Linked DNA regions of Homo sapiens: regions 2, 3 and 4 are each linked to region 1. Evidence: promoter capture Hi-C in 16 types of primary human blood cells and fetal thymus (Javierre and others, 2016). All regions are on one chromosome and are shown on one strand. Each heading gives the region's core, a stretch centred on a gene start or on the middle of the fragment in contact. The rest is flanking DNA. Distances are from core to core; before and after follow the strand shown.

What was found. The method cuts DNA at HindIII sites, captures the fragments that hold promoters and counts their contacts. A CHiCAGO score of 5 or more calls a contact.
Region 2: a fragment that was not itself captured here is called in contact with the fragment with the promoter of CDCA8 in region 1 in 4 of 17 cell types (naive CD8 T cells, total CD8 T cells, naive CD4 T cells and 1 more); the score reaches 7.6 in naive CD8 T cells.
Region 3: the fragment with the promoter of MATN1-AS1 here is called in contact with the fragment with the promoter of CDCA8 in region 1 in 2 of 17 cell types (total CD4 T cells and activated CD4 T cells); the score reaches 6.1 in total CD4 T cells.
Region 4: a contact is called between a fragment that was not itself captured here and the fragment with the promoter of CDCA8 in region 1, in 6 of 17 cell types (naive CD8 T cells, fetal thymus, naive CD4 T cells and 3 more). The highest score is 14.0, in naive CD8 T cells.

The regions. Positions count from the first base shown.
Region 1 is chr1:37,691,147-37,693,867 of GRCh38, reverse strand. CDCA8 (cell division cycle associated 8) reads right to left here and starts at 1,352. Exons shown (of 10, transcript NM_001256875.2): 1 at 1,084-1,352; 2 at 835-963. The coding sequence starts at 1,177. It also overlaps a transcript of AIRIM not described here. RefSeq lists enhancers at 571-1,079, 1,080-1,590, 1,629-1,818, 1,591-2,100, 2,101-2,611 and silencers at 2,049-2,218, 2,239-2,298. The HindIII fragment of the contact is 4,527 bases long and covers 1-2,721 here.
Region 2 is chr1:29,225,608-29,228,328 of GRCh38, reverse strand. All of the region lies in intron 1 of MECR (mitochondrial trans-2-enoyl-CoA reductase), which reads left to right. Among named protein-coding and RNA genes, the nearest start is that of MECR, 4.0 kb to the left of the region's middle. The HindIII fragment of the contact is 3,518 bases long and covers 1-2,721 here.
Region 3 is chr1:30,717,466-30,720,186 of GRCh38, reverse strand. It overlaps MATN1-AS1 (MATN1 antisense RNA 1), which reads right to left and starts at 1,415. Exons shown (of 4, transcript NR_034182.1): 1 at 622-1,415. It overlaps MATN1 (matrilin 1), which reads left to right. Exons shown (of 8, transcript NM_002379.3): 3 at 1,230-1,452. RefSeq lists silencers at 803-892, 1,453-1,972, 2,013-2,192 and enhancers at 550-1,125, 1,223-1,392. The HindIII fragment of the contact is 4,958 bases long and covers 1-2,721 here.
Region 4 is chr1:43,971,979-43,974,699 of GRCh38, reverse strand. DPH2 (diphthamide biosynthesis 2) reads right to left here. Exons shown (of 6, transcript NM_001384.5): 4 at 2,630-2,721; 5 at 2,366-2,542; 6 at 1,331-2,285. The coding sequence ends at 2,161. It overlaps LOC124904167 (a long non-coding RNA gene), which reads left to right. Exons shown (of 2, transcript XR_007066053.1): 1 at 1-257; 2 at 813-1,335. Among named protein-coding and RNA genes, the nearest start is that of ATP6V0B, 1.6 kb to the left of the region's middle. RefSeq lists enhancers at 1, 52-171, 1-587, 1,818-2,721. The HindIII fragment of the contact is 2,166 bases long and covers 255-2,420 here.

The sequences.
Region 1 (2,721 bases), core at 103-2,602:
CCACGCCCAGCCTGATGCGCCCATTTTTAGGTTAGCAATTTCCATAAGCTGCAGAAGGAGCTGCTTCGGGTTATTCTTCTATCTGAGCTCTGGTTAACTAACCATGTCATTTATTCATTCATTTTTAAATGGGTAAAATATACATATATTTTTAAAAATACTATTTTCTGGCCGGGCGCAGTGGCTGACTCCTGTAATCCCAGCACTTTGGGAGGCCTATGTAGGTGGATCACTTGAGGTCAGGAGTTCGAGACCAGCCTGGCCAACATGGTGAAACCCCGTCTCTACTGAAAATACAAAAATCAGCGGGGCATGGTGGCAGGCGACCGTAATCCCAGCCACTCCAGAGGCTGAGGCAGGAGAATCACTTGAACCCAGAAGGTGGAGGTTGCAGTGAGCAGGGATCGCACCACTGCACTGCACTGCACTCCAGCCTGGGTGACAGAGTGAGACTCTGTTTAAAAAAAATTAAATAAATTTCCTGATGTGTGAAAATTATGTGAAATTCACATTTCAGTGTATCCATAACTAAAATTTTATTGGAATACAGCCCATCCATGCCCATTCACTACAGCTGTTTTGGACCTGTAAACAGCAGAGCTGAGTTGTCCGACAGAGACCGCCCCGCCCGCCGCCCCCCAACCACCCCCCCATTTTTCATAGAGAAAAATGAAGTAGGGAAGTGAGACAGAGAGTGAAAGGGTCTGCAATTTTCCATAAGTGGTCATGTCAGATCTCATTAAAAGGTGACATCTGAGCGAGCCCTTTCTGAAGGGTGTCACCTAACCCCAAGGGGCTCCTGGCCTCCGCCCAGGGAAGCTCTCCAGCTCTTACCGAAGTAGTCAAGCCAGTTCATCTCGCGCAGAGCCTTGGGGAGCCGCAGGATCTCGATGTTGTAGAGGTTATCCACCTCCTTGAGGAGGTTCTGCCTGTCTGACTCAATTTGCTTGATTCGTATTTCCACTGCGGGAGGGCAGAGCCGACAGGACACGGGTCACGGGCGGGCGAATCTGTGCAGCTCGTGTCCCCACCCGCCAGCATCCCGCGACCGCCCCAGGAGGCCGCGACGGCCTGGCCCCTTACCTTCACGGTCGAAGTCTTTCAGAAAGGAGGCGAGCTTCCGCCTCCGTAAGGAGTTGGTCTTGGCCACCCGACTACTGCCCTTCCTAGGAGCCATGGCGCTCGGCGGAGGCTGCGGGGAGCGGCGGAGATGGGGCAGGGAAGCAAGAAACTGGGTAGGGACGAGGAGGGCGGACGGGGACCACCCGAAGAAGTCGCCAGGCACGTACCTGCGGTCCCGAGACAAGGGCTGAGCAAAACCTCGCTGTGCCAGTGAGAGAGAGCGGCTCTACAGTCAACCGCCACCCAATTCAAACTCCACAGTCACAGGCTGACGAATGAGAAGCCGCCGTCCCACAACATCCAATCACAAGCAAGTTCCTGCCGGCCCAGGGTCTTCCGCCCAATGCGCCCCCTATAGCCTGAGTGCGACAGCGAGGCCGCCGCCGTCGCGGGTACTCCTGGGAGTTGTGGTCCAGGCTTGTTTCCCCGCCCTCCCCACCAACCCACCCGGCTCCGCCCTGGCCGGCTGCGAACTATACAAACTACTACTCCCGGCAGGCCTTGTGGCGGCTCTGCAATACCCCAAGCTCTGGAGGGCTGGGGGCCTACTAGGTCAGGTCGGCTGTAGGATTCTGCTCCAGGGTTGGCGGCTGCTTCTTTCTGGCCTGGCTGCCACTGAGTAGCCGAGGGGCCGCCGTGACCCTCTGACTGATTGACTGGCTGGCTGCCTACGTCGGCGCTCCTCAGGGCCCCAAGCTCCTCAGGCCGAACTTCGGGCAAGTGGCGGGTCGGCAGAGACAGAGCAGCCCCGGCAGGGTTTGACAGAGCAAGGGGGACGGAATGATAGAGGAGCAGGGCAGGGGTGCAGGCTTTGGGGGGGGCGCGCTATCCCGCGGCCAGTCTGGGCAGCGAGTGGGGGGAACCCTGTCGTTCCTCGCTCCCCCGCGGGCCGGCCACTCCCGCCCAGTTCGCGTGTTGGCGCCTCGACTGGGTGCGCAGCGCGGGGCTGCGACTTCAGGTGCAAGTAGTGGCGCTTGGCAGCTGGCCACACGGTGACTGCAGCATGAGCCGCGGCCACCAGGCTCCAGGGAGCCCAGGGCAGGAGGCAGCTCTGGGTGTCGTGGCCGTGGGCCTGGGAATGGGCGTGTAGACGGCGAGCCCCGCCGAGCCGCGGTCCTGTCGGAGGTGCTAACTGTGCATCTTGGTATCTGCCCACGGCCACAGGGTTGGATTGCTCAAGAGTTGTGCTGAGACCCAGAAGGCTAGAGGCTAGTTTCGAAGCTGTAGCTCAGGCTGAGTCTCAAGGCGGGCGGCGACTGGACGGCCAGACCGGCGAGCTCTTGACGGGTTTGTGGCCTGATTGTTTGGATTTGGTGCTTTTCACCTGTGGATGCGGTCTGAAGCCATGTCAGAGGGGTTGTGTTTAAGCGTGCATGTTATAGGCTATGGGAGTGATAATCTTGCCTCTCCCCCTCTGAGTTGAGGAACAATCGAAGAAATAAGCAAAGGTGCCAAGCAGGCTCCTGATGGGCACCAGCGAGCTTGGGGACAGAGCAGTCCAAGCATAGAAGTCCTGGCAAGCCTGGACCTTCCTGGAAAGTCCTTTCTCTCTCTTCCACCCTGGTCTGTTGCTCCATATGCAACAAATATTTGAATGTC
Region 2 (2,721 bases), core at 162-2,661, 8.5 Mb after region 1:
AACTTTGGCTTCACAGCACAGTCACCATTTGTAGTGCTTTTATTTTTTGTATTTGCCCACATAAAATATCAGACAGCTTTTATTTTATATATATATTTATTTATTTATTTATTTATTTTGAGATGAGATCATGCCATGTTGCCCAGGCTGGTCTTGAACTCCTGGGCTCAAGGGATCCTCCCACCTCAGCCTCCTGAGTAGCAGGGATTGCAGGTGTGTACCACCACACCCAGCTTGACCTGTAGTGCTTTTAGAAACTACCGTATGTATTCCTAGGCCCCACTCCTGAGGTACTTAGTAGGTCTAGGATGGCTTGGAGCTTCTGTTTTTTTCAAAGCTCTCCAGGTGACTCTGCTGCCCAGGCCAGGCTTGAGAACCACTGCCTTGTGGATACAGATTGTCAGACAAGCAGTAATTCTCTCCGTGCTCCAGAAGGGCAACTTTACTTTCTGACCCAGATTCAGGCGGCTTTACTTGTTCTCGTATGGACTGAAGCCAGAGACTGGGATTCTCTTTGTAGTCATGTCTTACAAGGTTTAGGGTAACCACACTGTCACAGAAAGAATCAGGTGTCCTTTACACATCCTGGTAACTGGCTGTCTGGGTCAGGTTACACCAGGTAGGGGTCATGGGACTACCTAGAGTCTGAACAGAGCATTGTCAGAACTAGTGTGGTTTGTGATGCTTGCGCTGTGGGCCACACCTCTGCAAGCAGGAGGGAAGGAATGAGGAACAGCCTTCTCAGGTCTGAATCCTCAAAAGGAGGCCTCCAGGTTTCTCCTGTTCTCACGTCCCTGTTTTCATTCCTGTTGGCCTCCAAACATTGCAGCTGTTCTCTCCTAAGCCATTTTCCCCTGTTGCTTAGTTTCTTTCCCTTTCTTCCAAAATGGGATTCCCTAAATAAGTATTTGGGCCTTTTTTATTTAAAAGATTAAACTGTAGATCTAAGTAAAGTAAGACTGTGCAGAAGAATGACAAACATTTGAGAAATTTCAGAGTTCTCCATAGCCACTGTCCCTTGTGCAGAGTTCTAGATTCCCTATCAGATAGTTCCCAGAAACCCAGGGGCCAGGCATGGTGGCTCATGCCTGTAATCCCAGCACTTTGGGAGGCCGAGGCGGGCGGATCACCAGAGGTCAGGTGCTCGAGACCAGCCTGGCCACATGTCGAAACCCTGTCTCTACTAAAAATACAAAAATTAGTCGGGCACAGTGGTGCATGCCTGTAATCCTAGCTACTCGGGAGACCGAGGCAGGAGAATCGCTTGAACCCAGGAGGCAGAGGTTGCAGTGAGCTGAGATTGCACCACACCACTGCACTCCAGCCTCAGCGACAGAGTGAGGCTGTGTCTCAAAAAAAAAAAAAAAAAAAAAAAAGATAGTTCCCAGAAACGCTTAGTTCTTCTCTTGCCTTCTTTTTTTCCTGAAAGTCCGCTCAGAACTTTGCCATTCTCTGGATCTTCTGGTGAAAACAGCTTTCATTTATTGTATACCTGCTGTATAGCAAGCATTGGACTAAATGCTCCCTGTATATTACGGGGTTTTAAAATCAAAACACTCCAGTTTGGTTATTATTACTTCCACTTTACAGATAAGGAAATTGAAGCTCAAGTAGATTGAAAGGCACTTATCCGAGATCTTACAGCTAGGATGCCCCTTCTTTATTAAAAGTCCTTGATATAGACATAGGCCTGAGGAAACAACAGCAGTCACCTCAAATGATTTCTTCAAATAAACTTTTTTAAATATTTTAAATAAAAAATATAGATGGGGTTTCACCATGTTGCCCAAGATGATCTCAAACACCTCAGCTCAAGCGATCCTTCTGCCTCAACCTCCCAAAGTCTCAAATGATTTTTGAGAATGAGATGGACTATAAAATTGGGAAAAAGGTCAGAAGAGAAGGTGAAATTGTAGGTCATTCAGGTAACCCCAAATTTCTACGCTGTAGAAAGGGCAGCCCCAATCCTGGGAAAGTTTAGAAATACCATTCTCTGTCTCCTCCCCTTTTCAGGATCCCGAGGCTTTTGTAAAACAGCATCCTGATCATCTTGGCTTTCTCACCTGCCTGCTGCTAGTACAACAATGAAACTAAGCTGGAGCTGGAAACCCGTGGACATATACCCGTTCTGTCTTTTTTTTTTTTTTTTTTTTTTTTTTTTAGATAGAGCCTGGCTCTGTCCCCCAGGCTGGAGTGCAGTGGTGCAATCTCGGCTCACTGCAACCTCCACCTCCCAGGTTCAAGTGATTCTCCTGCCTCAGCCTCCTGAGTAGCTGGGATTACAGGCGCGTGCCACCACACCCAGCTAATTTTTGTATTTTTAGTGAAGACAGGGTTTCGCCATGTTGGCCAGGCTGGTCTTGAACTCTTGACCTCAGGTGATCCACCTGCCTCAGCCTCCCAAATTGCTGGGATTACAGGCATGAGCCACGGCACCCGGCCTACCCATTCTGTCTTAAGCCAGATGGACTTTGGAGGAGCAGGTAGTGGGGCCCCAGTCTGTCCATTCTCACTATAGGGCACTGTTTACTCTCAGGAATTTCTTCTTTTTACAGTTAATATAAAGCAAAACTGCAGGTGACTTGATTTTTAAACCCACATTTTAGTACTTTGGGGAAAAAATAGCATTTTGGGTTTGGTGCTCTGTTTAGAGCTCTTTATTGTGGTCATGAATGGAGTGGGAACAGAAGGCATTGATATAGTAAGTTGGCCAGCATGTAT
Region 3 (2,721 bases), core at 166-2,665, 7.0 Mb after region 1:
CCCAGCAAGGTGGACAATCTGAAAGCTGGGTTGCAGGGAGGGGAGTAGGGACTCGAGGAGGCAGTGGGCCTCGGGATGGCAGCGAATAGTCACAGCTAGATTTTCAGAGCCAGGAGCCCAGGCCCCTGGAGAGGAAGAGATTGTACAAAGTCACTCCCCAGGTAGCCCAGGGTAATGATGGTAAAAATAATAGTTGCCCCTTCTGGCTTCTAACCAGGAGTCATCTCACTCAACCTCACCACAACCCTTTTTACAGTTGAAGACACTGAGGCTCAGGAAGGTGACCTGTAGCTTGTGGAGCTGCATTTCTAAACACGGCCTGTCTCAACTGCCTGTCATCAGGACAGGGTGTCAGGACCTGGGGCTAAGGATGGGACCCAGGAATCAGAAACAGACCCAAGTCAGAAGCAGAGAAGCAGCAAAGCGGGACTGGATGCCTAACCCAGACTGGGCAGAGCTGGGAGCGCCCTAGCCTCAGGGCGGGTGCAGACAGGGGGTCACGAAGCCGGATCTCAGTGACAGAGTCCGCCACCTCTTTCTTTCCAGGGTACAGACCAGAGGAGCCTAGTGGGAGGGGAGCAGGCAGATTCTTTCCCTCTCTGGCAGGGGCATGTATCATACCGGGGAGTGGAGGAGGATAAGGGCGGCATCTTTCTTGGGTTGGTCCCTTGGGCATCCACATGGGAGTGGCCCTCCGTCGGTTCCCTGGTCCAGGGTCCCCGGTCTTACCGGGACAAGGACAGCAAGACGGGAGACGGCAGCCCCATCCCTTAGCTTCGGCTGCCATCTGGTGGCCAAAGCGCAGAACTGCACCATGTGGAACCACCGGATCCCCCCACCCAGCCCCGGCCGGGCCTCCCGGGGGCACGAGGGGCGTGGCACGACTCCCACAGCCATCAGCCTGAGGACCCTGCCCTCAGCCGCCTCAGTCTGAGGGGAAGGCATGGCCCTGACCTTAGAGACCCCAATTTGGCGATGGGGCATCACATCCCTCCGGGCATCTCAGAGCTGCCTGCCCGAGGGAGGCGAAGCAGATGGAAAGCCCCCCAGCCACGTCTCTCAGTCAGAGGAAACGGGTCTCCTCTTCGGCCAGCCGGGTCCTCTTCCCCCGGGTGCCGCCTGGCTGTGCGACCCGGCAGTCCTCCCGCCTCTCCGGGCCTCAGCCTCCTCTCCTGGACAGTCCCGTGGGCTTCCGGGAGCCCGGTGTCACACCGCCCCGCGTGTCGCAGGTGGTCATCGTGGTGACAGACGGGAGGCCCCAGGACAGCGTGCAGGACGTGTCTGCGCGGGCCCGGGCCAGCGGCGTCGAGCTGTTCGCCATCGGAGTGGGCAGCGTGGACAAGGCCACGCTGCGGCAGATCGCCAGCGAGCCGCAGGACGAACACGTCGATTACGTGGAGAGCTACAGCGTCATCGAGAAGCTGTCCAGGAAGTTCCAGGAGGCCTTCTGCGGTGCGCGGGCAGGCGGGGGCGGAGCCAGGGCAGGGGCGGAGAAGGGGAGAGCGGCGGGGCGGGGCCAGGGCTGGAGGCGGGACCGAGGCTGAGGCGCAGACGGAGCCAGCGCCGGCGCAGGGCAGGGGCGGGGCCGGGGGGGGGGCAGAGGCGGAGACGGGAGAGAGATAGAATGTCAGTGCCGGGGCGGGGCCGGGGAGGAGCCGGGGGCGGAGGCGGAGACGGAGAGAGTCAGCGCCGGGGCGGGGCAAGGGTGGGGCCAGGGCAGGGGCGGAGACGGAGAGAGCGGCGGGGCGGGGCCAGAGCAGGCAGGGGGCGGGGCCAGGGCAGGGGCGAAGACGGAGACAGTCAGTGCCAGGGCGGGACCGGGGCGGAGGCGGAGAGAGTCGGCTCCAGGGGCAGGGCCAGGGCTGAGCGGGACGAGGCCGTGGCAGGCGCAGAGACTGAGAGTCCGCGCTGAGGCGGGCCAAGGCTAGGGGCGGAGCCAGCGCTAAAGTGAAGACAGAAAAAGTCAGCGTCGGGGGGCGGGGCCACATCAGAGGGCGGGGCCTGGCTGGGGCGGTAGCCTATAAAACGGCGGGAACTGAGTTACACGGCAACATCAGGGCGGGGCCAGGGCTAGGGACACGGCTTAGGTGGATTGGGGGTGGAACCTGGATTAGACTGAGGTGGTGCCAGCACCAGGGGTGGGGCCGTAGCTGGGGCGGAGCCTGATAACGGAGGAGGGTCTCCAGCCCCAGGTTAAGGGAGTTGGGGAGAGGCGATGTTAAGAGTCCTTTTATGGCCGGGCGCGGTGGCTCACGCCTGTAATCCCAGCACTTTGAGAGGCCGAGGCGGGCGGATCACGAAGTCAGGAGATCGAGACCATCCTGGCCAACATGGTGAAACCGGTCTCTACTAAAAATACAAAAAATTAGCCGGGCGTTGTTGCGGGCGCCTGTAGTCCCAGCTACTCGGGAGGCTGCGCCAGGAAAACGGCGTGAACCCGGGAAGCGGAGCTTGCAGTGAGCCGAGATCGTGCCACTGCACTCCAGCCTGGGCGACAGAGCGAGACGACTCCGTCTCAAAAAAAAAACAAAACAAAAAAAAAAACCGCACACACAAAAAACAACAGAGCCCTTTTATGTGGCAGAATCCTGGCAGGGACCAAGGAGGGCCCAGAGCTCAGGAAGGAGAGCTCCCAGAAAACCTACACATGTTTCTGTGTCGTGAGTTTTGGGTGCCAGAGTTTTCTGTGATGCGGGAGAGTCTGAGAGGCCTGGGCACTGG
Region 4 (2,721 bases), core at 88-2,587, 6.3 Mb before region 1:
TGCTCGCGGGCCCCTAAGGCGTCCTCTCTGGCAGCCGTGCGTCCTAGCCTGTGGCGGGTGGCGCCGCGCGTGCCCTCTGCCTCACCTTGCTCACGGCGTCTCTCCGCCCCAGTGCGCCTGTTGGCGCTCGCTCCGCTGCCTGGCTAACACCTGCTGTCCTCCGAAATCGTCCTTCCGGCAAGCCTTCCCTAACCCAGTGGCAGGGAAGCGCGTTTGCTGGGCTCCCGCGATGTCCTGGTGATGCTTATTAAGCTTCAGTAAGATGTCACTACCCTGTCGAAATGCCCTGATGGCTCCCATTTCATTCAGGAGAAAAGCCAAAGTTCTCACAATAGCCTGCTAGGCTCCCCACGCCCCTCAGCTGACTTCACCTTCTAATATTCCCCCACTAACTCCCTCCTCTGGCTGCACTGCCCTCCTTGCTATTTCTTTGAACGTGCCAACCATACCGCGACCTCACTGCCCTTGCACTTGCTCTCTCTGCTTCTCCTAACTATACATGCGGCTCATCCTGTAACTTCCTTTCAGTTTTTGCTCACCTTCTTGAAAAGGCCTTCTCTGACCATTCTGTTTAATATTCCACCCCACTTAAACGCTCCTCTGCTTCCCAGCTTTACATTTCTCACGGTACTTACTGATCACCATTTGGCATACTAAGTATTTTATTTGTCCAACTCCCCTGGAAGAGTGGAAGCACCATGGCTTTTGTGTCGCTCACTGCTGTATTTCCAGTACCTGGCACAGAGTGTGTCCTCAGTACATATTTGTAGAACACATGACTGATGCCCACTTTGTCTGGGTTACCTTGTTAGCTTACAGCTCTGCCTCCACCATTAGACTAGGCATTCCCTGAGGGCAGGGACCACATCTCCTTTGTTCACCTTCAATACCCTCGACAATGCCACTGTGACCAGATTCTCAACAAATGTGGGGAAGAAGAGGCGAGTCTTTTCATTTCACCCCTCTCCACCTTTAGGGCCCAGCAACCCCACTTGCTTGAAGCATCCGCCATGTTGGTTCATGTTTAAGCCCAAAGGTCTTTTTCACTCCTTTTCTCCTGACAATTATTTTTTCCTCCAAAAGATCCAGCATAGGTGTTATGCCCTCTGGGAAGCCTCCTCTTAGTCCTTGTCAGGTATCTCCTGTGGGATCCAGCTGTCCCTGGGGCTTCCCTCCTCCCAGATAGAGCTGTTTCACTGTGTACTGACTGCGTATTTAACTCTCTTTCCAGGTACACTGGAAAGGAATCTGGTTAAATACAGTTAACATCTACATCCCAGGACCAGTGCAGGACCTGCAGTATTTCATGAATTAAAAAGAAACACAAAGAGAAAAGGTATCTGGTTTATTTAGGTTGCTGTGATCTCCCTGAGAAATAAGAGTCAGTATAGACCAACGCTGTCCAACCAATAGAACTTTCTGCCATGATGGCATATCCTGTAGCTGCACTGTCCCCTCATGTGGCTGTCTGAACACTTGAATGACTAATGTGACTGAGAAACTGAGCTTTTAATCTTAATTAACTTAAATTTAAGTTTAGCCACATGTATTTAGTGGCTACTGTACTGGACAGTGCAGGTCTAGCTAGACCAGTGGTTCTCAATTGAGGGCAATTTTCCCCCACAGATAACATTTGCCAAGGTCTGGAGATATTTTTGGTTGTCACAACTGGGGGAGTGCTTCTGATGTCTAGTGGGCAGAGGCCAGGGATGCTGCTGAGCACCCTACCATACACCAGACAGCCCCACAACAAAGAATTATCTGGCCCCAAATGTCAAGTACGAGTTTGAGAAACCCTGGTCTAGACTGTCTAGCACCTGCCTTTTGACAAGGACAGACCCTCAACTGCAGCCTGGGAACTGGGATTGGCCAAAGGTCCTGGGCTGCCCTCAGGAAGACAGATGGGTCCAGAGGCCTCAGGGAAGTCCCTAAGCCCTTTATTCCATCAGCCAAACAACACGCATTACTGGGCATGTGCTGAGCTTGTGCCAGTGCCAGGACAGGACAGAGACGGATCCTATCCTGTGAAGGGCTGCCTGCTCTCCCTCCTTCCAGGGTCCTTCAAGGATCTTGGCAGGGGGATGGGAGGTTGGTGCAGGGAGCACTAAAGGTCCTAGCAGCCATTCATAAGTCCATCTATGTCTCCAGCCCCACATGGTATCAGCCGCTTCCCTCATCCTCATAGGCGATGGCAATCCCTCGTCTTCCACTCACAGCTTCTGTCACTGGCGTCTGACCCAGGCGGGGCTCCAGCCCTTGCCAGCTCCGGGAACTAAGGAATGAGGCTGTAGAGGGAGGGGGCTCAGTCTGAGTGCGCTGCATCTGGAGAAAAAGCTCAGCTGGGAGTGGAGACTTGTACATTTACCTGCAGGACTGCTCTCAGCCAGCTCCAGCTGGGGCCGTGGGGTCAGAGCCAAGCTTCCATGATCATTTGATGACTTCCAGGCAGGTGGGGGTCGGAGATCTCCAGTAATGAGTGACACGTCTGGGGTTTCCCACAGCTCTGACTCAGGTGGTGGGAGAGCCACGTGGAAGGGAGAGCCTGAAAGGGAGGAGGAAAGAAAATCCATACTCACCCCCTGACTCCGTGCCCCAGGTTTCCAGCTTAGGCAATGCCCCCACTACTCACCAGGCAATAAGTCCGCATAATGTGTGAGGTGGGGAGCCAGGCCTGGAGGTGGCCAGGCAGGGTTGCAGGCAGCTTCCAGCTCACATGGTGCC